7 separate regions of the Homo sapiens genome follow, and regions 2, 3, 4, 5, 6 and 7 are each linked to region 1. Evidence: promoter capture Hi-C in human tissues and cell types (Jung and others, 2019). All regions are on one chromosome and are shown on one strand. The core of a region is centred on a gene start or on the middle of the fragment in contact, and the rest is flanking DNA. Distances in the headings are between cores, read along the strand shown.

Region 1 (3,466 bases), core at 1-2,500:
TGCCCTTGCCCGGGTCGTCGTAGTGGCGCGGCACCTTCACGAAGCACTTGTTGAGGGACAGATTGTGGCGGATGGAGTTCTGCCAGCCCTGCTTGTTCTCGCGGTAGTAAGGGAAGTTCTTCATGATGAACTCGTAGATGCCGTTGAGCGTGAGCCGCTTCTCGGGGCTCTGCCGGATGGCCATCATGATGAGCGCGTTGTAGCTGAACGGCGGCTTCTCGTACTTGCCGTTCTTCTTCTCGCCCTCCTTGCCCCCCTCCCCGTCCTTGCCGCCCTCGCCCGCCCCCTTCTTCTCCTCCCCCCCGGCGCCGGCGCCCTTCTCCTTCTCGTCCGGCCCGACGGGCGCCAGCTCCCCCGGCCCGCCGCCCGGCTCGCCCTTGCCGCCCAGCCCGTCCGCTTTAGCCCCGTCCAGGGCGGCGGCCGGTGGTGGCGGTGGCGGCGGCGGGAGCAGCAGCTGCTGGGGGCCCTTGTCGTCGTCGGCGGCCGGGGCGCCCCGCGTCTGGGGGGGCTGCGGTGCCGGGGGCGGCGGCGGCGGCGGCTGCTGCTGCTGCGGCGGCGGCGGCGGTTGCGGGGCGGGCGGCGGCGGGTGGTGGTGATGGTGGTGGTGGTGGTGGTGGTGCTGGGGGTGGTGGCTGTTGTGGTGGCCGTGGCTCGCGTGGTGGTTGTCGTTCTGGACCGCCTCGGGCACCAGGCTGTTGATGCTGAACGAGGACTTGGGGATCATTTTCACCTCTTTCCTATCTCCCATGTCCAGCATCACCCAGTCGTCGGGGGGAAACGGCGGCGGCGGCGCGGGAGCGGGACAGCGGCGCGGCGGGCGGCGGCGACCGGTGGGTGCCGAACGGGGCGCGGGGGGCGCGGGCGGCAGCGGCGGCACTGAGCGCTCCGGCAGCAGCGCAGTTGGACCGCAGGCTCGGGCGCTGGCAAGTCATGTAGCAAAAGCAGCAACCACCCCTCAGGAATTAGAAAAAAAAAAAAAAAGGAAAAGAAAAAAGAAAGAAAGAAAAAAGAAACAACCACCGCCCCGGGGGTGAAGCTCCCTCGCTCCCAACTGTACTTCTTGGTCTCCCCCCCCACCCCCCGCTCCCCCCCCCGCTGCTTCCTCCTCCTCCTCCTCCTCTCGCAGCAGCAGTCACAGCAGCAGCAGCAGCAGCCCAAAGGGGGGGAGAGCCGGGCGGCGGGCGGGCGCGTCCCGGAGCGGCCGCGGCGAGGCTGGGGAGACAGCGATCGAGGCGGCTATAGCCACAATTAATTTTCCGAGCTACAGGCGCACACTAGGGCTGTAAAAAAATTTTTGGTTTAACCTTTCCTACCGCTGGGCCAATCAGAGCTGGCGGCGTGCGGGAGCGTCTCTCTCGCCGTCGACCAATCGGAGGGGCCGGGCCCACCCACCCCCGCCCCGCCCGCCGGCTGCCGCCCCCTCGGGCGCTCGCCTCCCCCTCTCCGCGGGCCTCGGACCCCGAGGCCGCGCGGAGCCGCGTAGGGATACGCCGGCGGGAGCACGCGGTGCCGCAGCCCTTCCCTGCGCCCCCGCCACCCCCTCCACCCCGCCGGCTCCGCTCCACCGAAATTCCCCTCCTAGGGCCAATAGCTCACATTTCCGGCTTCCTCCTCATTGTACTGGGTCATTTTCGTTTAAGCGTCAATATTTGTCCTTAGTGATTAAAGTTTGTATCCAATTTTATTTTTGAAAGCGGGGGTGGTGGTGGTAGTGGGAAGAGTGGGAGTGCAGGGAGAGGATGCGAGAGGGCAGGAAATGGAGGAGGTAGAGGCGAGGCACTACTTTTCCGAGTCGGCCTTGCAGGCCAGTGTCTGGCATTTCTGAGCCAGCAGGAAAATTGTGCCCTTTGTAGGTAATAGTCTAGCGCAGCTTTGGATAAGGGGGGAGATAAGGCCCACCGCTGGCGTGTGTGCGGGGGTGTCCTTTACTTCGGGGGAGGAGGGTGTGGGAGAGCTTTGGGAGCGATGAGATGAGGAGGAGGAAGTGGGCAGAGGAGCGCGGGGCCAAACAGGGGTTACTTACTCGATTCCTGAGGCCTGGGCGGCGGCGAGCTCCGGGCTCCGGCACCGCGGGGAAACCGGGACTGGGGCTCCGGGTGCTGCTGCGGCGGCCGGGGCCGCTCAGTAGTGGGCGCCTCTGATGGCCTTCCGAAATGAGAGGTGCCCAGAGAGAAAACAGTACCAAACAATCTCGAAATAAATCAGGTAACACATGCTATATACGTGTGTCTCTTCCTTTTCCTTCTCTCCTGCTCCAGAGCGTCGCTCACGCGCGGGGTGACTCGATGTCGTTTTCTCCTCGCCGCTCCAGCCTCAGCTTCTAATCCGAATTGGAAGCGGGTAGCTGCGAGCGATCACCCTGGAAATATTTTCGTTTTGCTTGTTGACATTGGAGGGAAAATAAGGGTGGGCGTCTATTTCTTTCCGGTTTTTTTTTTAAGCCTTCCTATTTTCACTCCTTTTTTTTCCTTTCCGTTTCTCAAATGCTTTTATTTTGTGCGGGCCTCATTCCTGAAATAACAGTATACTGAAGCCAGCTCTTGCCAACCCTGAGTGCTGCTGGAAAGCACCGGGGAGCCTTGGGAACGTGGATCTCACAGTCCCAGCTTCTTGGGCTTTGGAACTGGGAAGGTTCGGTTGGAGGTTGAAGTGAATGGGGAAATTGCGAATCGGGGGCTTTAAAAGGATCCCGTGGCCAGGGGCAGGGCTAAGGCCCAGCATTTCCCAGGGATTGGAATTTAGTGGGGAGCACATTGATCAAAGGCTGTTTCATCCCACATGGGCACGAAACATACCACATTTTACGGAGGATGTAGCCCCAGAGAAGAGGGAGGTGGAGAAGCATAAATGAAAGGCACCTTTTCCTTCCTCTAGAAGGTAAATAATTATAAAATGTAAGCATTTCTTCACTTGGATAAACTTTCATTAAGATATCTGGCAGATTTGGTATTTAAGAAAACGAAGGAAGGAAAATTGGTGCTTATGCTTGATCCTAAAGTTAAATTGTAACATAAAGAATGCGGTTGATGAATACTCAGGATAATAGGGGGTTATTCCATCCTCCCCACCCCCAGTCTTAAGAAAGAGAAAGAGAGAAAAGGTTGGGGGGGGGGGAGGAAACTGGAGAGAATAATAGATAATTACAAATAGCTAGTGAATTTTAAATATGCATCTATTAGGAATGCCACAAAGGAGCTTTGAATATTGGACTAACCTCAAATGTCCTTCCACTGTATGTATGTATCTTTACCTATGTCTACATATCTTCTCACTTTAAAACAAACTGTATTTACATGTGGAAAAATTCAAGGGTTCCAACAATCAGTGTTGATAGTGACATGGTCCCAAACATTTATTTCCAAGCTCTGGATTTCTCGCAGGGCCGGGTGAGCTAATGGGCTTTGCCTACCGGCTGGAGAGATTTGTGGGCCTTCCCCTTCCTACTCACTTTTCCTCCTCCCACTCT
Region 2 (3,026 bases), core at 332-2,831, 330 kb before region 1:
GTGGGTATCAAATTTACCCCATTCTTTGTCTTCATTTGCTTATATTCAGGCCTCCAAAAAATTTGTATTTACCACTAATAAAGGAACATATCAGGAAGAAAGGATGATTTACAGAACAAATCATCAAATACATTTTTTCTCTATTGCCTGAAGTTACACAAATAAGTGATAACATTTCATCTGGATTTCCAGCTGGAATAATTAAGGAAAAAGTAGAAAACAGTCTCTGATATCTTTTTTGACTCAGGTCTCTGTTTAGTTATTATCTTTTCAGAGAGATATTTCCTAACCATATTTTCTAAAAGAGAGTCCCCCTTTCCCTAGTTATTCTTTATCCTCATAATGTTTTATTTAATTTCTAGCTGTTAACCCCACCTGACATTATCATTTGTTTATCATTTGCCTCTTCATCTAGAACTTAAGCTCCATGAGGGCAATATGATGAACCAAAAGGGGAACGATACCTTTTTTTGGTTCATCACTGAGTCATTAGGACCTAGAATAACACCTGACACACTGTAGAGGTTCAACGTCTATTTGTTGAATGATTGGATGTCTACTGTCCATTTAGATATGTAAAATCAGTGCATATCATTTTGTATAGTCATATATACTTTTACAAAGTGTTTGTCCTGAAACCCACTATTCCTAGCTGCTTAAATACCTAGGTCTGCTATTTGGATAGGTGAACACTTGGATGGTTGAATAAAGGAACAATTTAATGCACCATTGTCTTCTATGAACCGCATAGGATAAAAAAATTCAGGTTTTGTTATCAAGAATAACCTCCTGAGTAACTGATTTGCTTTTGTTTCATCATTTAACTAACGAATTGATAAAGTTTATCTCTTAAATTGGATTATGAATAATAAAATGTGTATAGGGCATTACAATATGCCTTTTTAATTAGCCTAATTAAGAGTTTGTTTGTGACCTCAGCTGTTTATTTCGTATCACTTTCTCCTATTTTTGTCTCCTTGCTACATTAGGCATTCAGGTAGTCAGAGTCATGGTCAAGAATACTGCCTCTGGAACCAACTAACCTCTGGCTGAGGCCAACCCAAATTTTGCTCTTCCCTAGCTGGCTGACCATGGGCAAGTTAGCCCAAATCTCTGCACCTCTATTTCCTCACTTTCAAAATAGGGATAACATTAATACCTACATCGCAAACTTGCTCATCCTCAGTGCCGTTATGAGCACCAAATGAGTTAAAACATGCGAAGCACTTGGAACAGTGCCTGGCACATGTTAAAGGCTTGGTAATGTTAGCTATTATTTTATCAAACACTTTAATTCTTCTCTGGAACAAAGTAAGACAAAATAAATGTTTTATATGCTAAACATCTCCTATGAGCCAGGCACTTTGTGGAGTGCTGAGGTGAAGATTAATAAACACATAAAGATATTTTGCATCTGGTATAGGACACAGAGGGAGACATTAATATAAACTGAGATGTCACAGAAAGGGTGACCTCGGTACTGAAGAATGAAGGGAAGATTTGGGAAAAGTAACAGCAACATGCGTACAGATTGGGAGGGGCGTCAATCATGTCTGAACAGTCGGAATATGCCTGGAGAATAGGGAGGAAGGGTGGTGGAAAGAGGTCTGAGATGTGGCTAAAATGGTAAGCCTTCACCAGATCTCAAACCAATTGCTGAGTTTCAGTTCCTGCATATTCAGACATTATTCCCCTCTTTCTGGATTGAGAAGAATCTTCCAGCATTTACTTCCTTTAGTGAAATCCAGTGACCAGCCCCTTTAGAAAGGTAGCTCCTGTGACTTAGTCTGACTTGTTCCCAGTGTATTCGAGAAGTCTTTCCCTAATAGACTCCTGTGCAGCAACTGCAAGAGGAGGTGCCATTTCAACAAGAGGTTAGAGCCCTGACTCTTGGCTTCTTGAGTGTTGCTTTTATTTCACCCTCCTGTTTCTAATGCTACTCTCCAATCGACTGCCTCCAGAAACAAATCCAGGTGTTTCTTAAACTCTTTGAATCGTCTTCTGTAGTAATTTATTCCATATGTTTATTGCTCTGTGTGTGAAATAATTTCATCAAGTTTCTTTTTTTTTATTTGTCGCTGCATTCCAATCAGCCAGCAGTAGAATCCTATCTATGAGTAACACTTTTAAAAACACCAACTCTTGTGCTCAGGGAAGCCAAGGGATGTTGTAGCACATGAGCAGAACAAGGAGAAAAGAACAACAAGCAATTGGGATTGATGACATTCGTTTAAGAGGAAAAAAAGGATTTCAGGAATACCTAGCAGGGGTTGGAGGAGAAGCTTTGCTCAAGTTCTTACTATATTTTGCATTTCCCCAGGGTGTCAATTTTATGAAACAAAGTGACGGGATGATTTCTATCACTTGAGAAGCTGTGTTAAAAAAATCTGATGCACTGGCAACAGCAAAAATTGTTATGGTAGGAATCAAATTGGTGCTTCCTTGCTGGAAATGAACGAAGCACTAGTGCCTGTCAGTTTATTTCTGAGCTCTGCTTTTCAAACTTTAATTTGAGAGGGTGGGAGGAGGTTTAATGGAAATCTGAATCGCTGTTAGAAGAGGACTATATTTTAAACTTTGATTTCATCGTTGTCTCTATGTTCAGAAGAAAATTATTCTTTATACTTAGAAGTGAAAGCACTGTCAGTTCTAAATCTATTAATGAGGGGGTGAAAGAGAGGGGAAAGAAAGGGAGTGCAGTATGTACAAAATGAATAGCTTCTGTAATTAGTAAATAAGACTGTTATTTCCAAATCAATGCACTTGCCTATGTTATACTACAGCGTGAAGGATCTTAAATGATTTACCTTTTAAAATTATCAAAATTTTGTTTTTTAATCAGCTTCTGCTAATAACATCTTCTCACCATGGAGCTGAAGTTTACTAACAAACATTTCACTCTTATCCTTTTGTTCAGGAAACTCTTGCAAAAATAATTGTCATTGTCATTTTTATTTACTGCTCTTCTCTCCAGGGAAAGAAGATATGCCACGGAGATGATGGGAACCAATGGGTTCATTGTGCTC
Region 3 (3,064 bases), core at 463-2,962, 470 kb before region 1:
AAATAGTTCACACACTGGCCAGAAACCAAGTGGACAAACTGTATTCACTAACCCTTTAATACTTGGCTCCTTTGTATAATGACCCAGCCCATTATTAGATAATGAAAGAGTGTATGAGAAAGTGGAAGATTATTTATGATGGAAACAAAATGAAACTAATGGGACAAGATTTGAAAGCTGTGATGCATGAAAGGTGCTATGCAGGCAGCTCTGGCACCATGACAAACAGAGATAAAGGCTCAGTGGGAAGCAACAGTGTGAACATGACTATGAAGAAGAAAGAATGGATTTCCTGAATGAATCCTTGCCATCTGGTGTTTGTTTAATACACAATGAAGGTCAAATGGCTACTGATCCTTTTTTCTATAGTCCAGTGACTACAAGAATGAGAGGAATCAATGAGTTTATCGATATGTCTGGAAATGACTCACCATATGATCTGATTGAGTCAATAAAACTCAAGTAACTTGTCATTACTCTTTCAAATGTGGTTTGGATATGGGACTAAAATTCTGTATTTCTTTTTAAAAGCCAGTTTGCTGAATCAAATGTGGCAGGTACTTTTTTTCTAGATTAATGTCATGAAGCATTTGATTTTATATGTATGCATGTATCATAGGAAACATCAGGAGGAAAATTTCTCATAAAGCTAAATGTTTCTCCAATCTTCAAATAGATCTATTCATCACTTGTTTCTGTTGAATGGTGGTGGATCAAATAAATCTTTTTTCTTCCACTGTGCCTTTTCTCTGTATGAGATTGATTACAAACCTATTTTATATAATCATTCCTAGGGGACCTATTAACTTTTGGCAAAATATGTTAATTTAATCATTATATGTAAACAGCATAAGTTTTGGGTATGTCATATGTAAGTGGAACATATTATTTTATATTATGTTCCCTTTCCTACAGGTTGTTTCAATAATGTACTTCCACAGTGTGATCTTGGAACTCTTATCATCTACTGCTGAAGTTGCAGGGTTTTCTGTTGAGTTCTTTTCTAAAGACTAAAATAAAAGATACTTTTCTCACATTAATATTTCTCAGCTGCCATGAAAACAGGGATAGGAGAAGCCAAAAATAGAGGAGCCAGCTGTGGGAGGCTGCTTTTTTTTTTCAGGACAACTCAGAAAAGTCTTTCAAATTCATTTCATAAAGAGTGTGTTAATGCAAATACTGTTTTACGTGCCTGCATGCTATAGTTTAGAAGCCGACATATACTCAGCTGTCTCACGGTGAATGTTATCTAACTGTTGTAGAGGTAGTAGAATTATTAAGTTTGTCTCTGTGGTAGATCCATTTAGGATTCTTTACCCTTTCTCTTGAAAGTACTCTCTTCTCTGATGCTAGCTAATTAAAGTAGGAAAGGGGTGATTATGAAAAAAATCATCTTCTTCCTCAAGTAGACCCAATGTGTTTTATTCTAGTTCCCACAAATTTTGTTGTTGTTTTGACTTTTTTCACCTGAATATCAAATATTACATGATCCCCTAACTATGCAAAACAAAACAAAACAAAAACCATCATTCAAGCCTGCAAAGGCACCATGTTTAATACATTGGCCTCCTTCATTTTGTTATTCATTTTTTTCTTTATGTAACTTAGGTAATAATGCAAATAAAATTTTATTCCATACTATTTTTTGCATAACATTTTTTCCATAAAACATTATGTCCATGAAGCCTTATCTGATCTACTCTTTTACCCAGGTAGAATGGCTATTCCTTCCTTTGTGCAACCACTGTGCTGTGAAGCTATATTCCAACCTTTACAATAGTGTTTCTAACTCAATTAAAAACTCTAGAGGTTTTTAACCTCTAGTACCTTTAGCATAGTGTTTTAAATTTTTATTCATCAGATTTTTAAATACTTAGAAAGTCTTATATGTGTTTAGCAACATAAAAAATAGGCATCTAAGATTAAACCTATAGACAACATAGATATTCTCCTGACACTTAGAATTGCCCATCTACTGAAGATGTTAAGACAGTCAGTTGATAAGACAGAAATGTTGTAAAACTGTTTCCTGTTTCCTGGCTGGAATTTAAATTATACAATGTACAAGTGCCCTTAAAACTTCAAGATACTAATATTCTGTTGGGTTGACAGATTAACTGCTTAGTGGCTGGGCATACCTAGCCTTGACATATAATGTCAGTGAAGTTGTATGATTCATTACTGGATATGAAATGACATTAGCTTTTTTGACCTACTGGCCATTATTTAAAGGTCCATATACATTCACCTGGCCTCAGAAGTCTGTTAGCAGCAAGTGCTATTCATGTAGGTTGACAGGCCAACAGGGCAGTGGATGCTCTGCTTACACTTCGAGGTAACTTAGAAGATAACTGGATTTAGTTGGGGCTTGAAAATTCTGAGTAGAGAAATGACTTTCAGATTAATTGCCTTAGATTTTATCAAGGTGAAAGGTGCAATAGAAATGTCAAAATGTGATTACTGTTATTATATTTTCTGTTATCAACAAATAGCTTTACTTCTTATGACTCATTTATTCAAAAGTTGGCATAAAACTAAGAAGCAGTTCTATATTCAAACTTCGAATAAAGAAAAAGTAAATTGGGGATTTATTCAGCATAAATCGACTTTATCATATATAATTTTTGTCAGATCCATGAATTTTCACTCTATGGCTATTTTGCCTGCTGTTCTTTTTTGAAACAAAAAAATATGTGGGTACATTTAGTTTTAACAGACAAATGTTGGGATTATGCAAATAACTAGTAATTTTAACTTTAGGAAATCTATTATGTCTCTACTATACTTGCTGGTCATTTTTTAGGATATGATTCATTAGATTAAAATGTGTTTCTTCATCCATTTTTCATGACTCTTTTCCTTTGGTTAGTAAAGGCTGACATTAAAAAATATTACGCCTGAAAGAAATAACCTTATATCAAACCATCTTAGCAAAAACAATTGCCTGAATCACTGGATTCTGGCAATTCACTGTGACCAACAAAAGTCATAATCCCTTAGTCATATTTACTAAAGATATCCGCTTCTCAGAGTTAGCTTCCTATGTTCTTCCACCGCTTTTGAT
Region 4 (3,047 bases), core at 55-2,554, 410 kb before region 1:
TGGGAACTGAAAAGACATATGGATTTCCCTGGCCTGGGCCGTGCTTCATAGTGATTAGTAAAGTCCTGTTATGTGAACGTTTGAAATGATTCAATCTTGACATTAAACTAATTGACAAAAAAGAAGTTTCATTTGGCAGTATTACCACCCTTGTTGCTATTATTTAGCATTTGTGTGGCATGTTGTTCTTGCATATTTCTCCACAAAATCCTTATATAGTGAGAGCAGTTCTTTTTTTTCTTCATTTACAGATTAAGATTTAAATGATTTCCTTAAGTTAAAAAACTCAAGTATTTTATCAAATCAGGATTCGAATTTAGCATTTTCAGAAATCCAGCCATTTGTTCAGTTTCTTATTTTAATAACAAGCTAAAATGACTAGTTCATTCAACTTTACTCTTTTTAAATCTATACCTCTTGAAGTCTACGTATCTGCTTTGCTAAATATGCCATGCTTTTTATCATTCCAAGTCTTTCTTTTCGTGCTTTGTGACTTATGTATAAGGGAAAGACTAAATGAGTAGTATTTCCCAGATATTAACCAAACTACTCCTTATGGTTGAAGACTACCTGTTTCAGAATGGCATTTACAATACTTGCTTCCATATGCCCCCAGATTCAGATGATCTCTAACAAGCCAGTATTATATTTCATCTCTGTTAAAAAAAATACAAAAAAAGTGCAAACCTTCTCCCACTTCAACATTTTCTCAACATTTTTTCTTGTGAAAATTCTGAGAGCCTTCTTGTCTCATAATTGCCTTCATTTTTCTGATACATAAACTGCACCTCAATATTTCCATTCTGTTAAGGGGAAATCTTTGTGTTATTTTTTGACTGAAATTTCAAAAGCTGATTAGATTATAATTAGCTTGCTATATGCTCCATTTCTTGGTTTCTATTTTGGTTTGGAAAATAAGATTAACAATCTAGATTGGACAGTCAGGTTCCTGTTCTGAAGCTGCTGTATAAGACTTGCCCCATAGGGTAGAGGCAGAAATGTGAAGAGACTTGCCAAAGAGCAAGTCATTTCCACTGTCTCAAAGCTTTATTCTGAGTATCTACAGCCAGACAAAGAGCTTCAGTGACACTGAAGGATTTTGTCAGCTCTGGAGAAGCAATTTTGTTTGTTTGTTTGTTTTTTGAGACGCAGTCTCACTCTGTTGCCTAGGCTGGAGTGCTGTGGCGTGATCTCGGCTCACTGCAAGCTCTGCCTCCCGGGTTCACGCCATTCCCCTGCCTCAGCCTCCCGAGCAGCTGGGACTACAGTCGCCCATCACCACGCCCGGCTAATTTTCTTGTATTTTTTTTAGTAGAGACGGGGTTTCACCTTGTTGGCCAGGATGGTCTCCATCTCCTGATCTCGTGATCCACCCGCATCGGCCTCCCAGCGTGCTGGGATTACAGGCGTGAGCCACCGCGCCTGGCCGGCAATCTTTATTCTAACGAAAAGACTGAACTCTTGTCACAGCCTCAACCATAAATTCATCATCTCATTAAAAGAAACATTACAAACACCAGAATTCCAATAAAACAAACAGATTCCTTAGGAAACCTCTTTTTAACAGAGCAATGTGCCCTACAACACAGTATGAATATCAGAACAATTTGTACTTGGCAATCACATAAATAGTTTAGGGCATATAGCCCTAAAAGTAAATTGTGGATAGCTATTTGGGGGAACAGCACTAAAAGAGTGAACTCTGTCGATGAGATAATCTAGCAATCTTTCCGTTTCAGTGGTAGCTTATTATATGCCTCAATAGAGATTCCACAATTTCTAAATGATTACCAGTAGATGTTATTAAGAAAAAGTGTCTTCAATATGCCATCTCATGTATACCAGAAGGATAAGCTTATTTGTTAGCATCAAAAAGCCTCTTAAAAAAAAAAAGAAAACAACTGTATTTTCCTTTCCAAAATAATGTGAGGAATGTATTCAAAATATGTAAGAAGCTATGAAGAAATTAGTAAGTAAAATGACAATTCAACAACATATTTTATTATGGATTTCAGTTTCTTGTTAACCTAAACTGAATTGAATGGTTTATAGAATCTCCCTAAAGTGGACATATTTGTTTAATTTTGCTTTAAAAATAAAAATGTAGCCCAACTAATGTGTGGAAAAAATGTTAAAAATTTAAATATGCTTCTTGGCCTCTTCCTCTAGAAGATAAGAAAACTATTTGAAACTCAGTAGTTTTAATGATTTCTGGTTAATAATCTTTGACCTTAAGATATGACATTATTTCTACTACTGAAGAGAAAATCACAGATGTAGAATTTATCAATTTACTGCATCTATCCGATTCACATTCTGATTTTGAAAATGAAACAGTATATTATAGTGTCAAAATGAAAGAAAATAAAAAGGCAGCTTTAAGAGCATTTGGATAACTTAACTATAAGTCGCTACAGGCAAAGCTGCTAAGATTTTGTAATTTTTTTTAGTTGGTAGATTTTTTTTTTGCACTTTACTATCTTTCCTAGTTTCACATAAGTACATAAGTGAGAAAAAAGAACTATCCATTACAGAGCCTCTCAAAAAATCATGTTTTGTTCATCTGCCAGACTTTTTCAGCAAATGTGTCTATGATGAATTTTACTCTTCCCCATCCCTCTCTTTTATTCCATCACCATTTGAGAAAATACAGTTGCAGGATTGGACTTAAATAATTTTTTTTGTGGGGGGTGTTCACTGAGAAACCTGGAAGGCCAGATGAAACATACTTATTGCTATTGAAACTATGTAGGAAGAGAAAAATTCAGGAGAAGATGGCATTTATTAAGACCAAATAGTAAATTACTTTCCATTATTTTTTCTCCTCATTCTTTGTAATGAATGATCTGTTTTCCAAATTTCTTTTATAAGATTTGTGTGTGTGAGTGTGTGTGCCTGTGTGTGTTGACATTTTTGATAGTCTTCTATGTAGATTTATGAAAATAATAATGTTTAAAACTAGATTTGTAAACCCAGGAATTATGCTCTTGGACCATGATCTATGATTATGCATTACTCCAACTGGACTGTTCTTCACCAAGAACTTG
Region 5 (3,176 bases), core at 256-2,755, 440 kb before region 1:
AGGGAAAAAGCGCAGAAATCTGAAGATTAGCCCCAACAATGACCAAGAAGAGGGGTAGTGACTAGCGTCCCCACCAACACCCAAACTGAATGGGGAGAGAAAGCCTTGCTCCCTGGAATGTCATAGTCACATACAAAGTAAGTGATTTTTTAAAATTTCAGCTGCCTTTGTTAAAGTGCATCTTAGGATTATTTTCTTATAAGTTCCATAAAAAGAATAACCAAAACTTCACTGTGACCTTTTAGAACCGCTATCCCAGAAATTGAGGGTGAAACCGACACTTAACAATGTGGACTAGTGCAGCATGTGGTCCAGGAAAAAGATGCATGACTGTTAAAAATTGCACATGGATGAAGCTGAAAAACCATCATTCTCAGCAAACTGTCACAAGAACAGAAAACCAAACACCGCATGTTCTCACTCATAAGTAGGAGTTGAACAATGAGAACACATGGACATAGGGAGGGGAACATCACACACTGGGGCCTGTTGGGGGGTAGGGGGGGCTAGGGGAGAGATAACATTAGGAGAAATACCCAATGTAGATGATGACGGGTTGATGAGTGCAGCAAACCATCATGGCACATGTATACCTATATAACAAAACTGCACGTTCTGCAAGGTACCCCAGAACTTAAAGTATAATAATAAAACAAATAAAACAACAACAACAACAACAACAACAAAATTGCACTAGCCATCAGAAATCATTTATTTGACAACCTATTCAGTTCATAAGAGAAATACAAAGAAACAATGAGATAATAAGTGAAAGGCCATGAATAGTTGTGATATATGTTTCAAGACAATGCAGTAAGGTCATGGCATACAACTAATCAGAGCCTCTCAAAGACTATTTTAACTTATTGTATTCATAATAATTCTACATCTATTTTCACAGCTCATAGAATAATAACAGTAGATCACTAGAGGGAAAAACTCTGAGGCAGGTTGCAGCAAGAAGTGACATTAGAGAACAAAGGCTAGGATAGAAAACTAATTAGACATAGGAACTCAAGCATTAAAAACTGAGGATGTTAGTGTAGAGGCAAATAGCATCAGTAATAGCCCTGAGGGTCTTGTATTTGCAAGTAGAGTTTCCAAAATGTGTAACAGAAAAAGCAATGGATTAGAGTTAGAAAGGTCTCTGTTCTAGGCCTGACTCCATCACTTACTGGTGGTGAGGTCTGGACACAATCTCTCAGTCCTCAATTTTTCCATCTACGCAGTGGTAAAAATGACTTGTCTGAATGCTTAATACATTTAATTTTGGGTATTATGGATGTGACATAATACCAAAAACCTTTGTAAATAAGTGTAAAAATGTGGCATTTTATTTCCTTACCAAAATTACTCTTAATCATCTAGTGCATTTTAAATTAACTACATTGTTTATTAAAGTCTGTAGTCCTTTTCTTTTTCCTATCAATATTTTCTCCATCAGTCATCTCAATCAGTCCCATGGATTTAAATATTAACTATTTGTAATTGACTCAAAAATTGGTCTTTATTATCCTGTCTTTCTAAACATCATGGCCAGCTACCTACTTAACATCTTCACTTGGAGATACTCTAAAATTTAATTAGCCTAAAACAAAACTCTTAATTGCACCTTTAACCCAGTTCTTCCTCTTGGCTTTCCAATTGACATAATAGCAATGCCACACTTTGTTGTTCAAACTAATAATCCAGGAGTCATCCTTGAGTTCTCTCTTAGGCACATACCCTGTATACAATCTGCCAGCAACACTTGTTAGCTCCATGTGCAAAAGTTATTTTGAGTCCATCAGCTTCTGTCCATTTCCATTGTTACTACCCTAGCCCAAGTCAGCATCATTTTTCACAAACACTATTGTCATAGCCTCCAAAATGCTTGCTCAGTCCCTCAATCCTTTCTGATTTAGCAGCTTGAGTGATCTTTTATAAACATAAATTAGATCATGTCACACTTCTGCCTAACCCCAAGTTTTCTAACACACTTCTTAGATAAATTCCATTTTTTTGACTCTGGCTCAGAAGGCCTTATGCACCCTGGCTTTTACCTACTTCCCCAGCTTCATTTCCTATCACCTCACACCAATTAGGTGCCATTCACACTAGCTTTCCTTCTCTTTTTCAAACACAATGTGACCTGGGATTATTCTGATTGGCCAGCCTGAGTGACATATCCACCTGTGTGGAGGGAAGATGAAGCCAAACCATTAACAGAGCCACTCAAATCAAATGGAATGAGAGAAACAAGAAACAATTATTAAAGAAGGGATATAAGCCCCATACTTAAAAAACCAGATGTCTATTGCAGTGCTAATCTGCTGGATTTTTCGTCATTAATATAACTTGTACCAACAAATACTGCTTAAATATTCCAGTAAAATTGATCCAATAAAAACCTACCTGGTTAAAATTACGTTTTGATTCAAAATCAATAAACACAGACACAGACAACATAAGCTTCTAATTAGGTATGTAAGTAGGCTAATACAGTCCTGTGGAGTTAGAGTACTTAATTATGTCAAAGGACCATCTAATTATTGTTGACCAGTAAAACATGTCTGTTTCCTTTCGGATTAATCTTTGTGAAAAGTTTCCAGGATCACAGTCCTGTAGTTCTGAAACACGAAAAGAAGTGTCAGAGTTGTTTATAGCACTTGAGCTTTCAAATCCTTTTAATGGCTATTTCAAGGGATTTAGCTACTTGTTCCTTGACTTTTACTATTTGATTATTAATCTTTTTATGATTCATATGGGCTGCCCTAAGGATTAGATATCCCTGAATTTCACCAAGATTATTTTCTTTAAATGAAAATTGCCACGAATCTTTCTTTTCATAGAAAGCTACATTGATGTCTTGAATTTCAAACATTTGAAATCCAAGTAATAAATAGGAAAAGCTACTAATGAAAAGTGTTATTTTTTAAATGATAAATTCAAAGATCAAAATAAAATGATTATTCATTGTACTTTACAAATAGCCCATCTTTGTACCAAAAAAAAAAAAATTCCTTTCATCTTCACAACTAAATTGACTAAAAGGCATGGTTTCCTAGCAACATTCATTGTGTTTATGACCTTTCCTCCAATCTGAGCACACAGATGTGATTCTGAAGCTAATAAATATACATCATCCAACCTAGACTATTCCACTTTCCCTAGAGCAGGTTGAGAGAAATAGCCAA
Region 6 (3,308 bases), core at 279-2,778, 380 kb before region 1:
CCTCAAAGTGGAAACCTGTGAAATAAAAAATGACCCTCACCAAAGCCCATTGATAAGCTCTCCAAGTATGAAATTTTGTAACTATGGAAAAGAGACGACCAAGTTTGAAAATCACTTCTGGAGGTGTTGAATAAATTTCATGTGGTGGGTACTGGTACTATTTCTGAAGTCTGAAGTACTTTATAAATTGAGAAATGCAAACTTTCATTTAATATCTTTATTCAAAACAAAGAAATATCTTAGTTAAGTTATTATATTAAGTCAGTTAATCACAAAGGTTTAACCAGGATTTCCTTATTTATGACTTATTTGCAAAGAAAAGGCAAAAGGAGTGTAATATGTCTGCAGGGGGATTATTTTCTATTGATGGATGTCTGTTGACAGAATCCTCATCATTTCTTGCCAATTTTCTCAAAGAACATTATGACAACTGCTCACAGCAGGCAGAGTCAGACTCCAGAATTGATTTTGGCAATCTATATTGATCATATTGTTGATGATCTTTAAAACATCTTGCTGTCCCAGGCTTGACTTACGTCAAAGAGAGCTAACCAATCTATCTGATATCAGTATGCTCATGCCTTTACCAAATCTTGAATTCTGAAAATAAAAGCATTGAAAGTAACTTGTAGTTGTCATCAATATTTAAGAGTCATCTTTAGCCAAAAAGCATCAGCAAGCTAACAGAACATTTTATAAAGATGCTGTTCCCACTTTACTCAGCTGCATAATGACTTCAGAGATCCATAAAAGGAAAACAAGAGTGGAGCCTATTATCTCTGAGGTTCTTATTTCACTTTTGTTCTTTGTGCAGGAAAACAGAAAAAAATTGAGGGCTGCAACAGAAGAAAAGGAAAAGGAAAGGAAAAGAAGGAAAGAGGAGGCAAAAAAATAGAATAGGGAATTTTCAACTGTTTGCCACTTTTCCTGGTAAAATATTTTTTAAAAAGATATAAGAAGACTAATAACAGAAAAATGGGAAATTTGAAGCCAAAATGACATTGATGGAAATAAATACATACATCTATCTGTATGTTTGTATGTGTATGTATATGCATATCTGTACATGTGTACGTATATACGCAAATATAGGTATATTAACGTATCTGATTTATTCAGTGTTCCTTCAAGAGCACAAGGAAACATGTTTGCATATATTTTCTTAAGTCTTATTGCATATTGCCCACCTTGCAGAAGGAAAAAATAAAGCACAGAAAGAATAGATGAATATAAAGTCACCAAGTCAGTGAAAGAACAGAGAGAATTTAGTTCCTTTGAGGTTGAATCAATGAACTACCCATTAAATTATATCGTTTTCTAAGGCACGAGAGATATGACATGTACTGCAACATAAGACAGTGCCAGGAGTCTGATGGTTTTATTTCACTTAAAAACAAATTAACCTAAAAGGATTACTTGACTTTGAAATCCAGATTCCATGGCTAAATGCCTTACACTGGTGTGCATTTCCAAGACAGATAGGGCCTAGATTTAGGACTAAGGGCTCATTTGTCCATTCTCTAGATATGCTAGTTTGAGTCAAGAATGTCTTCAGCATGTGTACATCAAGTCAGACTTGTAGAGTATATCTCAAACATAAGAGTTTTATGTTATTTCTTTTTTTTTTTTCAAATGAATTTGGACTAAAATGTTAACAAAATTGGAAACAGCTGTGTTAAGAAACTACTTTCTTTTCCATTTATAGTCTTGTCGACCAATATAAACTTCATCATTTTAGTGGAGCTTCTCCCCCACATCCAGATGTTATGGATTTCTCAATAATCTTCAGCAAAATTGCCAAAACCAACAAGAAGTTTTAACATGTAAATTCAACACATTGTTTCATGCTCATCATGGCCTTTTCTCCATCAACCCCATCCTCATCAGATTTCAGATGCTCGGCAGTTGACACAGCTACAGCAAAGGACTCTGAGTCATCATCTCATTGTGGGATGGGTTCCTTTTAAATTTTTTTTGTCTGATTCATGAACTGCTTTTTGAAAATCTAAAAATGGTTCATGAATTGCTTGGGAGTTGGCAAAAATTAATAATAATGAGCCCATTTTGAGTACACTGAAATGAACTGATTATCATTGCAAGCTGTTGCTAATTTGGATTCTTGATGGCAAGAAAGGGTTCTACAGGAGACTTTTCACTTGCAAGTAGGACAGATTTCATGGTGTGGCAGATAAAACATTTTTGTAACCTTTACCTCTATGTTTCCTTTTAGGGTTATGGTGGGATATGTAGAAATAATAGACCAGTTATCAAGACTTAAAAAATTAGTCATACTGGGAAAATGATAGAACCAACAGCCCTTTATAAACTAGTGGTAAAATGCAGGCATGTCATGTAATCCCAGAATAAGGCTTGGGTGTTTTCGCAAATGTTAGGAGATTATGTTCTGCAGAATAAGCATGGATATATCTGGTTATTTTATCCTAATTTATTAGCCACATATTGTTAGTTTTGCTCATATCAGTTTCTAATCATTTTCTCCTAAACTTTCAAAGCTATTAGCTTTAGCATCATCCTTCAGTTGAGATTTTCACAGGGTAAAGTATATGTTACGCATGAAGTAAGAATTCCTCTTGCTTTTGTTTCATGAGAAAAAAGTAGGGTAAAGGTTGGTGGGCCACACATGTTACTGGAATATATGAAATATCAGAAATGACATTTATTGAAATATCAGAAAATGTTTTTGGCATAATTTGGGGAAAAACAAAACAAATATAAAGCAAAAATAAATCCTTTTTGCCTTCTTGAACTTCTGAAATCAAATATTTTGAAACCTTGTTTTCATAGTAATCATGTACCTGGAAGATTGTTTTATGTTTTGAAACTAAGTAAATTATCTTTGAAAGCAAAAACCTATGCCTGCAAAATAATCGTGAAAGATATAATTTGACCTCATGTGGTTGAATACACAATGAGATGAGTTACTTTAATTTGGAGTTGAATTACCATGTATAAAATATCATGAAATAATTAAACTTAGCACTTAGAGAAATCATACTATCCCTCACCATATTATAGCCATGGGAAAAGTAAACCTTTTGACTAAACTATTCTTAATCCAACTACATAGAAAGGGCAATGAAAATCTCTTACAGTGCTGGAAATTTCTATTTTATGTTGCATGTGGAGCTCTGCTTCATTCTGCAATAACACAAATATTATCGAAATTTTCATTCTTGAGGTTTTATTTAGATTATTTATATTCTTTTTTTATTATTATACTTTAAGTTCTAGGGTACGTGTGCACAATTTGCAGGTTTGTTACATAGGTATACATGTGCCATGTTGGT
Region 7 (3,022 bases), core at 109-2,608, 500 kb before region 1:
ATTTACATAAAGAGTTCCTATCATCAGTTTTTCTAAAACATAATGTTTGATCAGGCAGCTAATAAACACAGATGGTATATATTGCGAATTCATTGCTCTGTGTAGTTTCAGAGCCTTCTCAAAATTTATCTCAGGTAACTTTTTCTGTATATAAAGGAATCAACTTAAATGTTACTTCAGTAGAAAGGCCTCTTCTGATCTTCAATCTAAATATGTTTTTTTAAATTTCCTTCTCATGGCATGTATTTTTTGTGTGTATGTGTCATAGCTCTTGTTCTTTATCACATGTTTATATCTGTTGGTTTATAACCATTTCCCCCTCATTAGACAATAGCTCATAGGACTGGGTGTATAGTGTTTACACTCTGTAGTAAGTCCCAAACATATAATAGATATTGAAGTAATAAGATCATTTAAAGGATCCAGAACACTATGTTAAAGCATTTAGCCTTTACATCTAAAACAGTCAAAGAAGAATTTTAAGCAGGGTTAAGCCTTATTGGGCTTCAGTGAAGGGTGAAGCATGAAATGGAAAGTATACACTTAGAGGCCAGGTGCTCCTTTAGAAAAGGGATTGAAACAATCTAAGAAACTGGGAAGATCTAAACTAAGGAAGTTTAATGCCAATATAGGAATAATTCCAAAGATACTTAAAATTAGGTGATTTTAACTGAAGTAGTGTATGCATAAAGGGAAACAATGAGAATAAAATTTGATTTTGGATTTTAGAGCAGACTGTAAAATTTTGATGCTATACCAAGACATTTGTAATTTTTCCTCTGAGAAGTAGAAAGCCGATGAAGAATTTTGAAAATTAAATTTTGTCTTTCATTTGCTTACTTGTATGTTTTAAATCATCTTGATTATGAAGACTAAGTTATTGAAACACATGAATTAGACTTCTGAGGACCATAGGAAAGTTGAAGTTTTAGTTCTGTGAGTTACTACTCTCAAATTTAGCCATAAGTATCTAGAGGCAAGGTCATCTTAATGAAAAATTTTGGGATCCTGACAACTATTGTCAAATGAACTTCCTTTATCATCATTATCATTACCACCACAATCATCATCAACATCACCACCCCCAACGACAATAATGGCAGCAATGACAACCACAACAACAACACACATTTGTTGGAAAATTATGTAAGATACTGCAGTAGGTTCTTGAGTACATAGAAATCTGGCATAGTCCCCGACATCGAAAAAGTAAAATATGTGCATTAAAATAACACTAGTCATGTAGAGGAGCATGTGATAAAATGAGTAGTAAGGAAATAATTTATTCTGGAGTTTAAAGAGAGAATTGTTTGTGGACCGAAGTGTCTTTAGAAAAAGGTTGATGGAGCAGGTGACACTTGAATTGGTCTTTGAGGAAGAAACACATTCAGATAAATATAAATATACCTACTGAGACAGACGTACTACAAGACAGAAGAGGAAGTTCCTACGGCCTCTTCTAAGGACAAGTAGACCAGTATACAAATAAGAGTGCTTTGACCATACCTTAGAGTTCATAAGGAAAACTAAAAGAAATATTCAGAGAGCTGGATAGAAACAGATTTTAAAGTATTTCGAAAATAAGATACTTTACTACAAATAAAGAGTAAACTAAGGTTTATTTTGAGGAAAGTGGAGAACCACTTACATGTTCAGAGCAAAGTAGCTACTTGTAGAAAGTTGTGTTTTAAGATTTAGAGAATGAACATAATGAGCATGTTCAACATGAAGCTTAGGGGTTAAAATTCTGGTTAAAGAAACCACTGTGATGGTAAGTTTTTTTTTAGTACAGGAAAAGGAGAACCTGATGTAAGAAATCAGAAGAATGGAATAATATGAATTTCTTTCTCTTATCTTTTATTAGGAAAAATTTCAAACAATATTAAAGAGAATATAATGAACCCCCAAATATTCACCACTCAGCTTCAAAAATTATCAATTCATGACTAATCTTATTTTATCTATATTCTTGCCTACCTACTTTACCTCCAGATTTTTTGAAGCCCATCATCATTTCACTTCACCTATTGATTTAATATAAATTTCTAAAAGATAAGGAATAATGAAAAACAAACAACCATAATACCATTTTCATACCTAAAAAATCAATAATTTTTAACAATCCCAAACATGCAATCAGTGTTTAGATTTCTTCAATTTTTATATAAAATTTCTTTATAATTAATTTCTTTGAATTATTGTCCAAATAAGGCCCATTCACTTGAGTTGGTTTATGTTTCTGAAATCTCTTTAAATCTTTAGTTTCATCTTTCACCTCTTTTTTCTTGAAACACAGTCTCTATTTTGCTGACCACATACTCAGGGTAGGATTTGCTATGCACTTCTGTTCCCTATGTATTCCTGAAAATGGTGGTTGAATTTAAAATCTTGAACAGATTTAGGTTCAATTTTTTTTTTTGGCCAGAATTGGGCCAGGCACCATGGCTCATGCCTATAATCCCAGCACTTTGGGAGGCCGAGGACAGTAGATTGTTTGAGCCCAGGAATTCGAGACTAGCTTGGGCAACATGGTAAACCCTGTATTTAAAAAAAAAAAAAAAAAAAAAATTTAGACGAGCATGGCGTGCCCCCTTAGTCCCAGCTACTTCTTTGGAGAGTGAAATGGGAGAATCATTTGAGCCCAGAAGGTCGAGGCTGTGATCTCGCCACTGCACTCTGCACTCCAGTCCAGGTGAACAGAACAAAACCCTTTCTCAAAAAAACAAAAAACAAAAACAAAAAAAACAGAAACAGAAAACCAAAATAATTGTTTATAGGTTGTGTTGTGTACTATTTCATTGTCTTTTGTTTCCCTGTTGGTATTATAGCAGTTATTACAAAATGGCGATATTCTACTTCAATCTTTTATTAACTGAAATACTACTATAACATGAAACTTCTCATAAATAATTTGATTACACTGATTTATAGCTCATTTAGAAAATTCAGATGTCTATTGCTCTTTATAAAACAGTTTGCAAACTGATAAGTTGATTCCCTAGCATCTTCCTAAGTTGATTTC

What was found. The method cuts DNA at HindIII sites, captures the fragments that hold promoters and counts their contacts. A contact is called where the count stands out against the background at its distance.
Region 2: a contact is called between a fragment that was not itself captured here and the fragment with the promoter of FOXG1 in region 1, in 2 of the 25 tissues and cell types used here (lymphoblastoid cells and spleen).
Region 3: a fragment that was not itself captured here is called in contact with the fragment with the promoter of FOXG1 in region 1 in 4 of the 25 tissues and cell types used here (IMR-90 fibroblasts, lymphoblastoid cells, mesendoderm cells and 1 more).
Region 4: a fragment that was not itself captured here is called in contact with the fragment with the promoter of FOXG1 in region 1 in 4 of the 25 tissues and cell types used here (liver, lymphoblastoid cells, mesendoderm cells and 1 more).
Region 5: a contact is called between a fragment that was not itself captured here and the fragment with the promoter of FOXG1 in region 1, in 2 of the 25 tissues and cell types used here (dorsolateral prefrontal cortex and lymphoblastoid cells).
Region 6: a fragment that was not itself captured here is called in contact with the fragment with the promoter of FOXG1 in region 1 in 1 of the 25 tissues and cell types used here (lymphoblastoid cells).
Region 7: a fragment that was not itself captured here is called in contact with the fragment with the promoter of FOXG1 in region 1 in 2 of the 25 tissues and cell types used here (IMR-90 fibroblasts and lymphoblastoid cells).

What each region holds. Positions count from the first base shown.
Region 1 is chr14:28,764,571-28,768,036 of GRCh38, reverse strand. It overlaps FOXG1 (forkhead box G1), which reads right to left and starts at 1,250. Exons shown (of 1, transcript NM_005249.5): 1 at 1-1,250. The coding sequence starts at 757. It overlaps FOXG1-AS1 (FOXG1 antisense RNA 1), which reads left to right and starts at 2,718. Exons shown (of 7, transcript NR_125758.1): 1 at 2,718-2,877. RefSeq lists an enhancer at 1,595-2,119. The HindIII fragment of the contact is 7,501 bases long and covers 1-1,801 here.
Region 2 is chr14:29,098,195-29,101,220 of GRCh38, reverse strand. All of the region lies in intron 9 of LOC107984685 (a long non-coding RNA gene), which reads right to left. Among named protein-coding and RNA genes, the nearest start is that of LINC02326, 35 kb to the right of the region's middle. The HindIII fragment of the contact is 4,658 bases long and covers 1-3,026 here.
Region 3 is chr14:29,240,160-29,243,223 of GRCh38, reverse strand. The region is part of intron 6 of LOC102724934 (a long non-coding RNA gene); the gene reads left to right. Among named protein-coding and RNA genes, the nearest start is that of LINC02326, 180 kb to the right of the region's middle. RefSeq lists an enhancer at 1-1,545. The HindIII fragment of the contact is 6,012 bases long and covers 1-3,064 here.
Region 4 is chr14:29,178,669-29,181,715 of GRCh38, reverse strand. It overlaps a transcript of LOC107984685 not described here. Among named protein-coding and RNA genes, the nearest start is that of LINC02326, 120 kb to the right of the region's middle. The HindIII fragment of the contact is 3,859 bases long and covers 1-3,047 here.
Region 5 is chr14:29,205,769-29,208,944 of GRCh38, reverse strand. No RefSeq gene overlaps it. Among named protein-coding and RNA genes, the nearest start is that of LINC02326, 140 kb to the right of the region's middle. The HindIII fragment of the contact is 3,407 bases long and covers 1-3,176 here.
Region 6 is chr14:29,143,386-29,146,693 of GRCh38, reverse strand. All of the region lies in intron 9 of LOC107984685 (a long non-coding RNA gene), which reads right to left. Among named protein-coding and RNA genes, the nearest start is that of LINC02326, 80 kb to the right of the region's middle. The HindIII fragment of the contact is 5,947 bases long and covers 1-3,308 here.
Region 7 is chr14:29,269,158-29,272,179 of GRCh38, reverse strand. All of the region lies in intron 5 of LOC102724934 (a long non-coding RNA gene), which reads left to right. Among named protein-coding and RNA genes, the nearest start is that of LINC02326, 210 kb to the right of the region's middle. The HindIII fragment of the contact is 5,908 bases long and covers 1-3,022 here.